Regions from separate parts of the Homo sapiens genome. Here region 1 is linked to region 2. Evidence: promoter capture Hi-C in human tissues and cell types (Jung and others, 2019). All regions are on one chromosome and are shown on one strand. Each heading gives the region's core, a stretch centred on a gene start or on the middle of the fragment in contact. The rest is flanking DNA. Distances are from core to core; before and after follow the strand shown. Region 1 overlaps NINJ2 (ninjurin 2). Region 2 holds the start of B4GALNT3 (beta-1,4-N-acetyl-galactosaminyltransferase 3).

What was found. Contacts are between HindIII fragments. The study calls those that stand out against the background at their distance.
Region 1: a contact is called between a fragment that was not itself captured here and the fragment with the promoter of B4GALNT3 in region 2, in 2 of the 25 tissues and cell types used here (mesenchymal stem cells and thymus).

Annotation. Positions count from the first base shown.
Region 1 is chr12:596,675-602,325 of GRCh38, forward strand. All of the region lies in intron 1 of NINJ2 (ninjurin 2), which reads right to left. Among named protein-coding and RNA genes, the nearest start is that of NINJ2-AS1, 31 kb to the right of the region's middle. The HindIII fragment of the contact is 6,301 bases long and covers 1-5,651 here.
Region 2 is chr12:456,915-462,550 of GRCh38, forward strand. It overlaps B4GALNT3 (beta-1,4-N-acetyl-galactosaminyltransferase 3), which reads left to right and starts at 3,025. Exons shown (of 20, transcript NM_173593.4): 1 at 3,025-3,631. The coding sequence starts at 3,463. RefSeq lists an enhancer at 2,193-3,176. The HindIII fragment of the contact is 8,839 bases long and covers 1,672-5,636 here.

The sequences.
Region 1 (5,651 bases), core at 1,832-4,331, 140 kb after region 2:
CACTTTGGGAGGTTGAAGCAGGGGCATCCCTGGAGGCCAGGAGTTGGAGACCAGCCTGGGGGACATGGCAAAATCCTGTCTCTACCAAAAATACAAAAAATTAGCCGGGCGTGGCGGCGTGTGCCTGTAGTCCCAGCTACAGGAGGCTGAGGTGGGAGGATCACTTGAGCCCAGGAAGTCGAGGTTGCAGTGAGCCATTATTGCACCATCCCACTCCAGCCTGGACGATGAGAGTGAGACCCTGTCTCAAAAAAAAAACAAAAAAAAATGGCAGAATTCACAGTCGAAAAGATAAATAAACATAAAAAAGTTAAGCTTCTGTCACATGAAAAACTTGTTAAAATTAAAAGTCACGTCATAACTATTACAAATTTATACCCTAAACCAAATAACACACCTATTAAGTACAATTATGATCCCAGTTTTCTAAAATAAAACAAAATGCCTTAATCTACAAAGGGGAAAAATGGAAGGCGAAACACTACGTGGTTGGTAGTTGTAGGCTGTGGGTTTCCGGGTGATGGCTGGTTCCACCATCTGTGTGACCTTGTGCAAGTCAGTTCCCCCTTCTGTGCCTCAGTCTCCCCATGTGTAGCATGAAAATGATAATGGCACCTTCCTGACAGGGTTGCTATGAGCACTACCTGGGTTACTGCGTGTAAAGTACTTGTAAGAGTGTGCGGCACTCAATAAATCTCAGTGTTGCTATTATTATACGTTTTCTTACAGATGGGCTTTTGAGATTTCCACTGTTTACCCAGGATACTAAGGGTTGTACTAAGAACATGGTGACACAGGAGAACATAGTCTGACATGGACAGACTTAAAGATTATAAGGAACAAACAAGTGAAAATAGGTCAGACAAATCAAAGAGTAAGGGCAGCACATATTATTCATGTTACATAAAACCAAGGAGCTGTTCCTTGTATATGATGAATTGAAGAAGTCTCGAAGACATTGCGTCTTGAGGCAAAGTAGGGCCAAGTGAAATTTCCACTTCTCTTGCCATTGGCCAAGAACATTTCATGGAGGAGATAGAATCTCAGAAGCTGAAGAAGAGGCGAATGTATTAGTGGGAGTTACCATTAACAATGAACACCAAGAAGTGTCGCAGGAGCCTGCACCTCGGCAGTGCAGCCAACTCTGCACTGAAGGTGTGGAGGGTCTGGGGCATTGTTGCTTTTGGGGAATGCTGGGCTATTACAGGCCAGAGGGCCCAGAGGCCTTTGCCTTGTTGAAGCCCTCTAGTATAATGCTGGACCCTTCTGGTTTAAAGGAACATTTATTATCACTAGTAAGATTTTTCTTTGTAGCTCTGGGCTAATTTATGTAGGTAGGAGGTCCCCTGCGGAGAAAGCTTGGTCTCTCGTATATAAACACAAGCATCTGCAGATAAGTTTCCTGTAAGGAAATGAGCTTGTTAACGGGTGGGAAAGGGAAGAACTGCTCACTCACACAATCGTGTATAATGTGTGTGTATGCGTGTGTGTCTGTGTATAGATATGTACAGACAGCACTTTGCCAACACCCTGTTTCTGGTATGCGCAAGGATGTTTCCATACTTGGCTGCTTCACAGGTGTTTTCACTGACCTCCCCCTGGGCACCGAGGGGGTAAGTGCGGATCTACGTTCAGCAGGTAGCTGTGTCCACAGCTCCATTCCGCCCCCACCCTCCTCCTTGCCCTCCCTCTGCCCAGAGGGAGGAAACTGGCAGTGAATTCCAGAGAGGACTGGAGAGGGCTGCCCGAGCTTGCCCATCTTACCAGACAGGGCTATGTCTAAGGTGTGAGTGCTGTGGACCTGGCCATAGGCCACTTTCGAAGGAGCTCACCCGTGACTCAGCTTGGGCTGTGAGAAATGAGGAGAAAGGGGGGGAGACATTTAAAACATGGTCATCAATTCAATCTAATTAGAGTCATTTGAGGTCCACCTAATAGACACCAAACTGTTAACAGCAATTATCTTTGGCCGATAGAATTAAGGAAAATTTTAATCCTGTTTAATATTATTTTCTACAATATTTTAATTTTAACTTTTTTTTTGAGACAGGATCTTTCTTTGTCATCCAGGCTGCAGTTCAGTGGCACAATCACGGCTCACTGGAGCCCCGACTTCCTGGGCTCTAGCGATCCTCCCACCTCAGCTTCCCAAGTACCTGGGACCACAGATGTGCACCACCACACCCGGCTAGTTTTCATATTTTTGGTAAGGACGGGGTTTCACCATGTTGGCCAGGCTGGTCTCGAACTCCTGGGCTCAAGTGATCCACCTGCCTCGGCCTCCCAAAGTGCTGGGATTACAGGCGTGAGTCACTGCGCCCAGCCTACAATGCTTGTATTTTTGTTACAAGGATGTATTTCTTGTACCAGCCGAAAAAGAGAGAAATATTGAAATAAATAAAGCACAAATTTGGAAAGTATTCCAGGCCGGGTGAGGTGGATCATGGCTGTAATCCCAGCACTTTGGGAGGCCGAGGCGGATGGATCACCTGAGGTCAGGAGTTCGAGACCAGCTTGGCCAACATGGAGAAACCTTGTCTCTACTAAAAATACCAAAAAACTAGCCAGGTGTGGTGGCAGGCGCCTGTAATCCCAGCTACTTGCGGGGCTGAGGCAGGAGAATTTCTTGAACGCGGGAGGCGGAGGTTGCAGTGAGCCGAGATTGCGCCGTCGCACTACAAGACAGAGACTTCATCTCAAAAAAAGTATTCCTCCCCCCGCCCCAGTTAATTTGTCAGTGGATAAGAAATGAGAATGACGAAGCTAAATCTTAGACATTTGAGGGGGTCATAGCCCCCAAGAAAAGGGTGAGTGTCCTAGCTACAGCACAAGCCATCACACGTTGAGCAGCGTGTAAGACCTCACAACATGATCTCTGCAACATCCTACAAGGGGGTATTATCCCCCCATTTACTGGTGAGAAAACAACTCAGAGAGGTTAAGAGACTTATCAGGATGCCACCCATGTTCGTGGCTTCATTGGAATTTGAACCCTGACTTGCCTCAGTAGAGTTGGGAGATTAGGACCACTCAGTCCCAGCAAGTCTGGAAGTGCGGAGGCCCTCCCAGCCCCACGACTGCGCTTGGCCTACTGCCTCTCCTCCTCAGCTTGGTTGGACCTGCACCCCAGCACGCCCGGGGGGCTCACATTCCTCCCCGAGATGCCGCCACTGATTCACCATGGTGCCAGTGTCCCATTGCCCGTCTCGGGCACAGGAGTAGCCGTGCACTCAGGATACCTCTGATGCCAAGGTTTGAGCAGCTCTGGCCCAGCCCGCCTCCTTCTGCCCAGCTGCCAGGGCCCCGATACTCAGCCCTCCCCTGCCTGGTTTCTGAGTCTGAGGAATGTGCCCAGAAGCAAATTGGCGCTGAGATTCACATTTACTCCTTTACTCCTTCCGAACGCCTGAGCCACTGGGGGGTCTTGGCTACTTCCAAGCTTCAATTCCTCGGGGCTGAATTTCTCAGTGATCTTGGGAGGTCCTTGCAGCTGAGTCCTTCTGGGAGACATGCAATGAAGGTGGTCAAGGCTATGAGGGGAAAAGGTGGTCAAGATAACGAGGGAAATGGAGCTAGAGGCTTTACAAAATGGGTGGGGGCCAGGTGCGGTGGCTTAGGCCTGTAATCCTAACACTTTGGGAGGCCGAGGTGGCAGAATGCCTGAGCTCAGGAGTTAGAGACCAGCCTGTGCAACATGGTGAAACCCCATCTCTACTAAAATACAAAAAAAGTTAGCCGGGCATGGGTGATGCACACCTGTAGTCCCAGCTACTCAGGAGGCTGAGGCGGGAGAATCACTTGAACCTGGGAGGCGGAGGTTGCAGTGAGCTGAGATCGAGCCACTGCACTCCAGCCTGGCAACAGAGGGAGACTCCATCTCAAAAAATAAATAAATAATAAAATTAAATTAAAAAGGGTGGAGTGGAGAAACAGTTTGAAATTAGACGGATGGCAAGGCGGGTGGCAGAATTTTTTTGGGGTGTGTGTGTGTGTGTGTGTGTGTGTGTGTGTGTGTGTGTGTGTGTTTTGAGACAGTCTCCCTCTGCTGCCCAGGCTGGAGTGCATGGTGTCATCATAGCTCACGGCAACCTTGACCTCCCGAGCTCAGGCAATCCTCCCACCTCGGCCTCCAAAAGTGCTGGGATTACAAGCATGAGCCACCATGCCTGGCCCAGAATTGTTGTAAGTTTCTTTTTTTCTATTTGTTAGGGTTGTTCTAGTATTTATGTAATTTAAAAAAATCAATCTTGAGTTTTCAAAGGGTGAAAACAAGATATGTAGAAATCTATCTGAACTCTCAATAGTTAAAACACTCCCAATTCCTTTGGTAGGGAGATCTCTGTCCTTTGAAAACAGGTCCACCTTGACCAGAAGACTTACTATTTAGTTCTCACCTCCCTGTGATTTGCTCTCTCCTGCATTTGCAGAACTGGCAGAGCATTGTGAATGCTCAGAATTTGTGGAATAAATGCATGAACTGGGTTTGCATCCTCATTTAGAATGCATGTAACTAGGTAGCTGCTTTTTGTATTATTTACTATGAATTTAAAAATATATCTTTTTAAAAATTAACTTTAAAAAAATAAAACAGGCCGGGCGCAGTGGCTCACGCCTGTAATCCCAGCACTTTGGGAGGCTGAGGCGGGCGGATCAGGAAGTCAGGAGATCGAGACCATCCTGGCTAACACAGTGAAACCCCGTCTCTACTAAAAATACAAAAAAAATTAGCCAGGCGTGGTGGCGGGCGCCTGTAGTCCCAGCTACAGGGGAGGCTGAGGCAGGAGAATGGTGTGAACCTGGGAGGCGGAGCTTACAGTGAGCCAAGATCAGGCCACTGCACTCCAGCCTGGGCCACAGAAGCAAGACTCCGTCTCAAAAAAAAAAAAAAATAAATAAATAAAACAAATAGCCAGGTGCGGTGGCTCACGCCTGTAATCCCAGCACTTTGGGAGGCCAAGGCAGGTGGTTCACCTCAGGTCAGGAGTTTGAGACCAGCCTGGCCAACATGGCAAAACCCCATCTCTACTAAAAATACAAAAAAATTATCTGGGTGTGGTGGCGGGTGCCTGTAATCCCAGCTACTCGGGAGGCTGAGGCAGGAGAATCACTTGAACCTGGGAGGCGGAGGTTGCAGTGAACCAAGATCATGCCAAGGTGGCAGTGAGCCAAGATCAGCCTGAGCGATAGAGTGCGACTCTGTGTCAAAAAAATAAATAAATAAAATAAAATGATTTCCATGGGAATAAGAGAGTAGAGTCTGACCCAGTTTATTATCTGTCTGACTTGATACACACCATTTTAAGGTACTGACATCCCCAGATGAAGCCAGTAGCAATCCCTTAATTAAATAACTATTCAATTAAGAACAGCTGTGTCACTTCAGACGCAATGTCCCGTGTGGTGATGACTGAGGAACCCCATGCATAAGGTACGCTGGAGGCTTCCACACTCAATGGGGATGACACTGGAGAACTGCAGACTGAGCCATAATCCACACACCACACAATTCACCTATTTAAAGTGTACGGTTCAGTGGCTTTTAGTATTTACAGAGTTGTGCAAACATCATCACAATCCATTCTAGAACATTTTCATCATCCCCAAAAGAAACCCAGTGCCCATCCCTTCCTTATCCCCAGCCCCAGCCTAGG
Region 2 (5,636 bases), core at 1,775-4,274:
CACAATCCAGAATTTTCTGGTCCCTGTGCTAACCTTGGCCCATTTTAGAAAACTTTGGTCAACCTCTCTTACAATGCCTCTGTAATTTGGGAGAAGAAACTTTATGATTTGACCTGCTCTGCCTCTGATATTCTGGCCAAGCAAAGACCGGGCCCTTCTACCATTATTGCAGGTGTATGGTGGAAAATATTTTTCCTTTTGGGTGCAATTTGTACAATGTGACCCTGGGCTATTCTGGGTCAGGTGCTGTAGCTGAAGTGGGAGGGTGAAAGGACAGTGAAAACCATCAGAAGAACTGGTGAGTAGCCAGGCAAATTGACACTGACAATGAATGGACATTTGTGACAATATATTATGCCACCATGATACCTCAATCCACATACTTAGTTCTGGAGCTCAGCTATTTGGGAAATTTGGGTCTCAAAATTCAGATCTTCCCCTGCTGTGACATCACCAGGAGTCAAAAAGGGATGTGGAGAAAGCGGGGTCTGAATGTGAGGGATATCTCAGTGCCAAGGCGTCACCCACAGAAGAGAAGGGAACAGAAGAGGGAGAGAGGAGAGCCACAAGAATGTCCTGGCCTCTTTTCTCTTCGACTCCTGGCACCTCTCACCATAAGCTGGAAAAGTAATGATCTTCTCAAGTTATAAAAACAAAGTAGAAATAAGAGGAGGATAAAAAATCAAGAGGTACAGGGTGATCTCCTTCTTCTTCTTAATCTCTTTGGACCATAAATTTGGCCTTTAAACTGTCAGATTTCTTTTCCTGTGGACTATCTTTTTTCCTCAACTAAACAGCATGCTTCTTGTTTTAGATCTCTCCCAGTTCCTACATAATAGATGCTTCAAGCATTTGGTTGACCGAAGTGATTGCATGAGCTTTCTCAGTCTTGAGGAGAGAATTGTGGCAAGGCTGCCACCTGTTTCCATGACAAAGTGTTAAAAGTGACTCAACCTAAAATCCAGTTGGGTTGCCCTTAGTAAGAGAGGGACTCTATTTACAGGGCCCGGTCACTTCCCACTTGACTCAGCCGAGCTTGCACAGGCCGTGCACACACTGGCTGCTCCTATCTTGGACTTGTGGAAAGAAAGAAGAACATGAGAAGTACAGGAATCTGTGGCTTTGGAACTTCACAGAGACCTTTCCCAGGGGCTACAATTAGAGAATTGTCCTTTGGATTCACCCTTTTTGCTAAAGAACTGCAGTGAAAGTTCTGGAAGATGTTTGCTCAAAGTGCTACCCCCATCCTCAAACCTTCCTAAGTGCTAAGTGGACATTGTACCACCCACTGGAAATGCAGCTCCCATTTTTGAAGCCTTACAGTGAGGTTGGGAAAACAAGACTCACACACTCCAAGTAAGTTCCAACATATCAGATGGTGAGACAGATGGCAAGTTCTACTAAAGCTCCAGAAAGGAAGGAGTTGCTTAGGACTTGGCTGGTCCAAGAAAGCTTTATAGAATCTGAAATGGACCTTGGATAAAGGGTACAAGTTGACCAACTAGAAAAGAAAATGTGTTGGAGGGTAGTGAATAAACTCGTTTTAGCTGGAGCAGGTTTCATGTGGTCACATAAAGTTGGAAAAGGTTCTGGAAGGCCCTGAATTCTGGATTTACAGTGTGTATCTTAATCAATAAGCATTGGAAGCCATTAAATATTTTTGAGCAGGTGTGTGACTACATACGGGATTTTTTTTTTTTTTTTTTTTTTTTTGAGACAAGGTCTTGCTCTGTCACCCAGGCTGGAGTGCAGTGGCATGATTGTGGCTCACTACAACCTTACACTCCTCCCACCTCAGCCTCCCGAGTAAGTTAGGACTACAGGTGTGTGTCACCATGCCTGGCTTTTTATGAAGACCATCTGGTGGTAGTGGACAGGATGCGATGGGAAGCTTGGAGTTGGGGAGGCTAATTAGGAAAAGTCCTGTAGAAACTATTGAATATCCAACTGAGGTGAGAACAGAGAGAAGGGAAACATAGTTCTCAATTCTGTGAGAACCTCTGTCTTGGAACAGTACTTGTGTGATATTCATTTGATTTTAAAATGTCCAGGAACACTTTGATCCTTCACTTTTCCCATAGTCTCCTGACCATTTTTCCCAGAAGAGATAATGGAAAAGAAAACTGCAGTATAACTTGCTGAGTGACCTGGGGCAGTTATTCTGCCCCTTGATACTTTATCTAATTTAAATCAGATAATAATGCTTTACCTGCCTGAAGGCAGAGGACTGGAATACTGATTTTTTTTTTTTTGAGACAGGGTCTTGCTGTGTTGCCCAGGCTGGAGTGCACTGACGCAATCACGGCTCACTGCAGCCTTGACCTCCAGAGATCAAGAGATCCTCTTGCCTCAGCCTCTCAAAGTGCTGGGACGACAGCCGTGAGCCACTGTGCCTGGCTTATCTTGCTGATCTTTTCAACTCTAAGAGTGAATACTTTTCTTTTCTTTTTAAAATTCTTTTTCGGAACCCTCAAACACCTACTCTCTTCAAACAGCCATTCCAGCCCAGTCTGGGGAAAACTGCTTGCTGGGGTTCACCGTGGGGGCTGTACGACTTCCCCAGCGCCTCTCGGAGATGTGGTTCAGGCTGGGAAGAAAGGTCTTCAAATCTCAACTGGAAAACGAAGCTATGTCTGCGTTAAGCGTCCAGTGGCTCCCGTGATATTTCACGCCTACTGGTTTCGTCAAGCAGGGAGTCGGGTCGTTGCTGTTGGCGACGAAAGGCTCTGAGGCTAAAGCCTTGGGCGTCGCCCAAACCAGCCTCTACTTCGCTTCTGCCTAAAACCACACCGTTAGGCGCCTGGGTGGTGACTCGGTTTCCCTCGGTCACCCAGAGTCCGCATCATCACTCGCCCCCTCCTCATCCCACCCGTTCCCAGTCGGGGGAGGCACCAGGCACCAGTTCTCTGGCCCCACCTCTCGCTCCCCTAGGGAAGCCGAATGGCCTCTTCGCGTCCCTGGCTTCTCGGGGGCGGAGCCCACCTGTGCCCGGGGCGGGGGCGGGGGCGGGGCCGGGGGCGGGCCAGGTTCCGCGAGCAGGAGAGCCCAGAGCCCGGAGCCCGGTCCGGGGCTGGCGGGGGCGCGGGCGGAGGCAGGCGGGCGGGCGCCGGGGAAGCCTCCTTCTGGGCAGCGAGTGAGGGCGGGCGCGCAGGGAGGGAGGGCGGCAGCGAGCCTGCGACGGGAGAGGCGTGGGGAGGAGAGCCCGGCGCGGAACACACGCGCGGAGGAGGAGCCGGGCTCGGCTCCCGGAGAGACCTGCTGGGCGCCCGCGCAGCCCGGAGACCCCTCGCGCCCGGAGCATGAGCCCGAGCCCCGCCGGAGAGCGGCCGGGAGAGACGGCCTCGGCGCAGCCCTGAGACGCTGGGCCGGGACGCGGGGCGCCCTGGGCGCGGGGCCCGGCCGGGGGGCGGCGGCTCGGGGGGTTGGAGCCCGCGCTGGCGGCGGCCGCCTCGGCGCAGCGCCATGGGGAGCCCCCGGGCCGCGCGGCCCCCGCTGCTCCTGCGCCCGGTGAAGCTGCTGCGGAGGCGCTTCCGGCTGCTGCTGGCGCTCGCCGTGGTGTCTGTGGGGCTCTGGACTCTGTATCTGGAACTGGTGGCGTCGGCCCAGGTCGGCGGGAACCCCCTGAACCGGAGTAAGTAGCACCCAGGGGAGGCGAAGGGCGCGGGGGTGGGCGGCGGCGGCGGCTCCTGCGTTGGGGGGACCCGCCTCTCATCCCATCCTCAGACCCGATTTCCCACCCATTTCTCCCTCAGGTGCCCGGCGTCGCCCCGCGCGTACTCGGGGAGAGCTGCGGGCGGGGGAAGCCGCGGGGCCGAGCGCAGAATTCCCGAGCCCGGGCCTGCCCGCCGGCCACGTGGGTCCGGGGCACCCTGGGGGCTCCTCGCGTCTCCCCTCGGAGAGCGACCCGGAGAGAGGCTCCCCGCCCGTCCCGCCGAGACGCTGGCGGAGACCGGGCCCCTCCAGCCGCTCCGGGCTTGCGGTTCCCGGGGAGGAGGTCCGTGGGGTCCACGCGCGAGCTAGGGATTCGGGTGCGGGATGCCCTCGGCCGTCCACACCCAGGCGCGCGCTCCAGTCCGCGCAGCCCAAACTTTGCCCACCGCCTTCTGTTTGGCTCACTCCGTTTCCTCTCCTGCTGCATCTTCTAGGGGGGTTCTTTTTTACCATACCTCGGAGAGTCCCGTCTCTTCCCCGCTTCCCATACGTCGCTCCTCTCCCAGCCTCCGTCCTCGGCTCTTTGAATCTCCCACCTCCTCGCTGCGCCCTCTTTCTCCTGTTCGGGCCGCCCCTTCTGCCACTTTTCTGAACCCTGAGCAAATCTACCAAACTCCCCAGTTTAAGGAGATGATGGACAGCACAGTGGACCGGGCAGCAGGTAGATTCCTACTTCTGTTTTTAACTTAGCCAAAGCCACTTAATATTTCCGTGCCTCAGTTTCCTCCTAGGAAAACAGGAGAGCGTGGTCTCTTTGCCTTTTTACATCAATAGGTATGGCTGTGCGAGGTGGTTTTCAACGTACTGTGGATGGGCCTAACAAAGTAAAACTGACAGTGACAGGGGCCGTAAAAGATCCTGTAATAGTTGGGAAAAGAAATGGAGAAACTCCCGTTACTACCAGGTGCCCAACGCAAGCCCGGGGAGCCGAGGTTCAAAGTTCTGGCACGTGGCCTCCCATGCCTTCACTTTCCTCCCGCTTTGGGGAAACTCGGACAGAGTGGCTGAGCAAGCAGCTGAGAAGATACTCTGACTCTGACCTGTCGTCGTGTCAGCTTCTCTACCCAGAGTTGGGTGTGGTGCTGTGCCTTCTCTTGTGGCCAAAGAGAGAGAATTACTAGGGACAGTCGCTGAGCTGGTTCAGGTTGGAAATGTATATTTATGGCCTAACCTTTCTGTGGTGATGGAAATCATTCCGGCTGTGAGTTAGAGGAGACTGGCTCTGCCACTAACTAGCGGGGGAATCAAGGGAAAAACGACAGCTTCTCAGGTGAAAATGAGGCCTTTGGTCCAAATGATCTCCAAGGTGTCTTTCAGTCTGGATACGAAGACTGATCTGCACGCAAGCGTTTCCAGGGCCAGAGAGCTCAGCACATCACCAGGAAGCCATAGCTTCCACCCCGGGGCCACGACTCCAAGCAGCAGAGCCCCTTCCTCTGATGACCAAAATCTGCCGCCCATAGTGAATTCTTCCCTCCTCTGGGCCTTGTTCTTCCTTCTGAAAGACAGAGAGTGAATCTATTCTCCCCCGCCATGGCCACTCAGGCCCAAATGGATGAGCTCCTTTGGAGTGTGTGTGGGTGGGGGCCTGGGAGGCGACACCTCCTCCCAGTGTAGCCATCATTTTGTTTAGCCAGTGGGATCTTGTGCACAAATTAAAAACAGAGAGAAAGGCAGTTGCTTTGTGACCTTGGAATCAGTAACCTCCCTTTCTCCCTCTCCTCACTTTTCTTTTACCTCCGGTGTGTTTTCTCCCCAAACCTGGATCTAGTTTGCCACAGTCATAATCTGACACTCTGGCCCTCGACCTCTGCCTCTGTCTCCCGTGGGCCGCCTCATTCCGAGCCATCAATTCTTGAGTCTGTTGGGTTCCCCTCCCAGAAGAATCTTAACTCTCTGACTGGGTTTCCTTATTTTTTATTTTC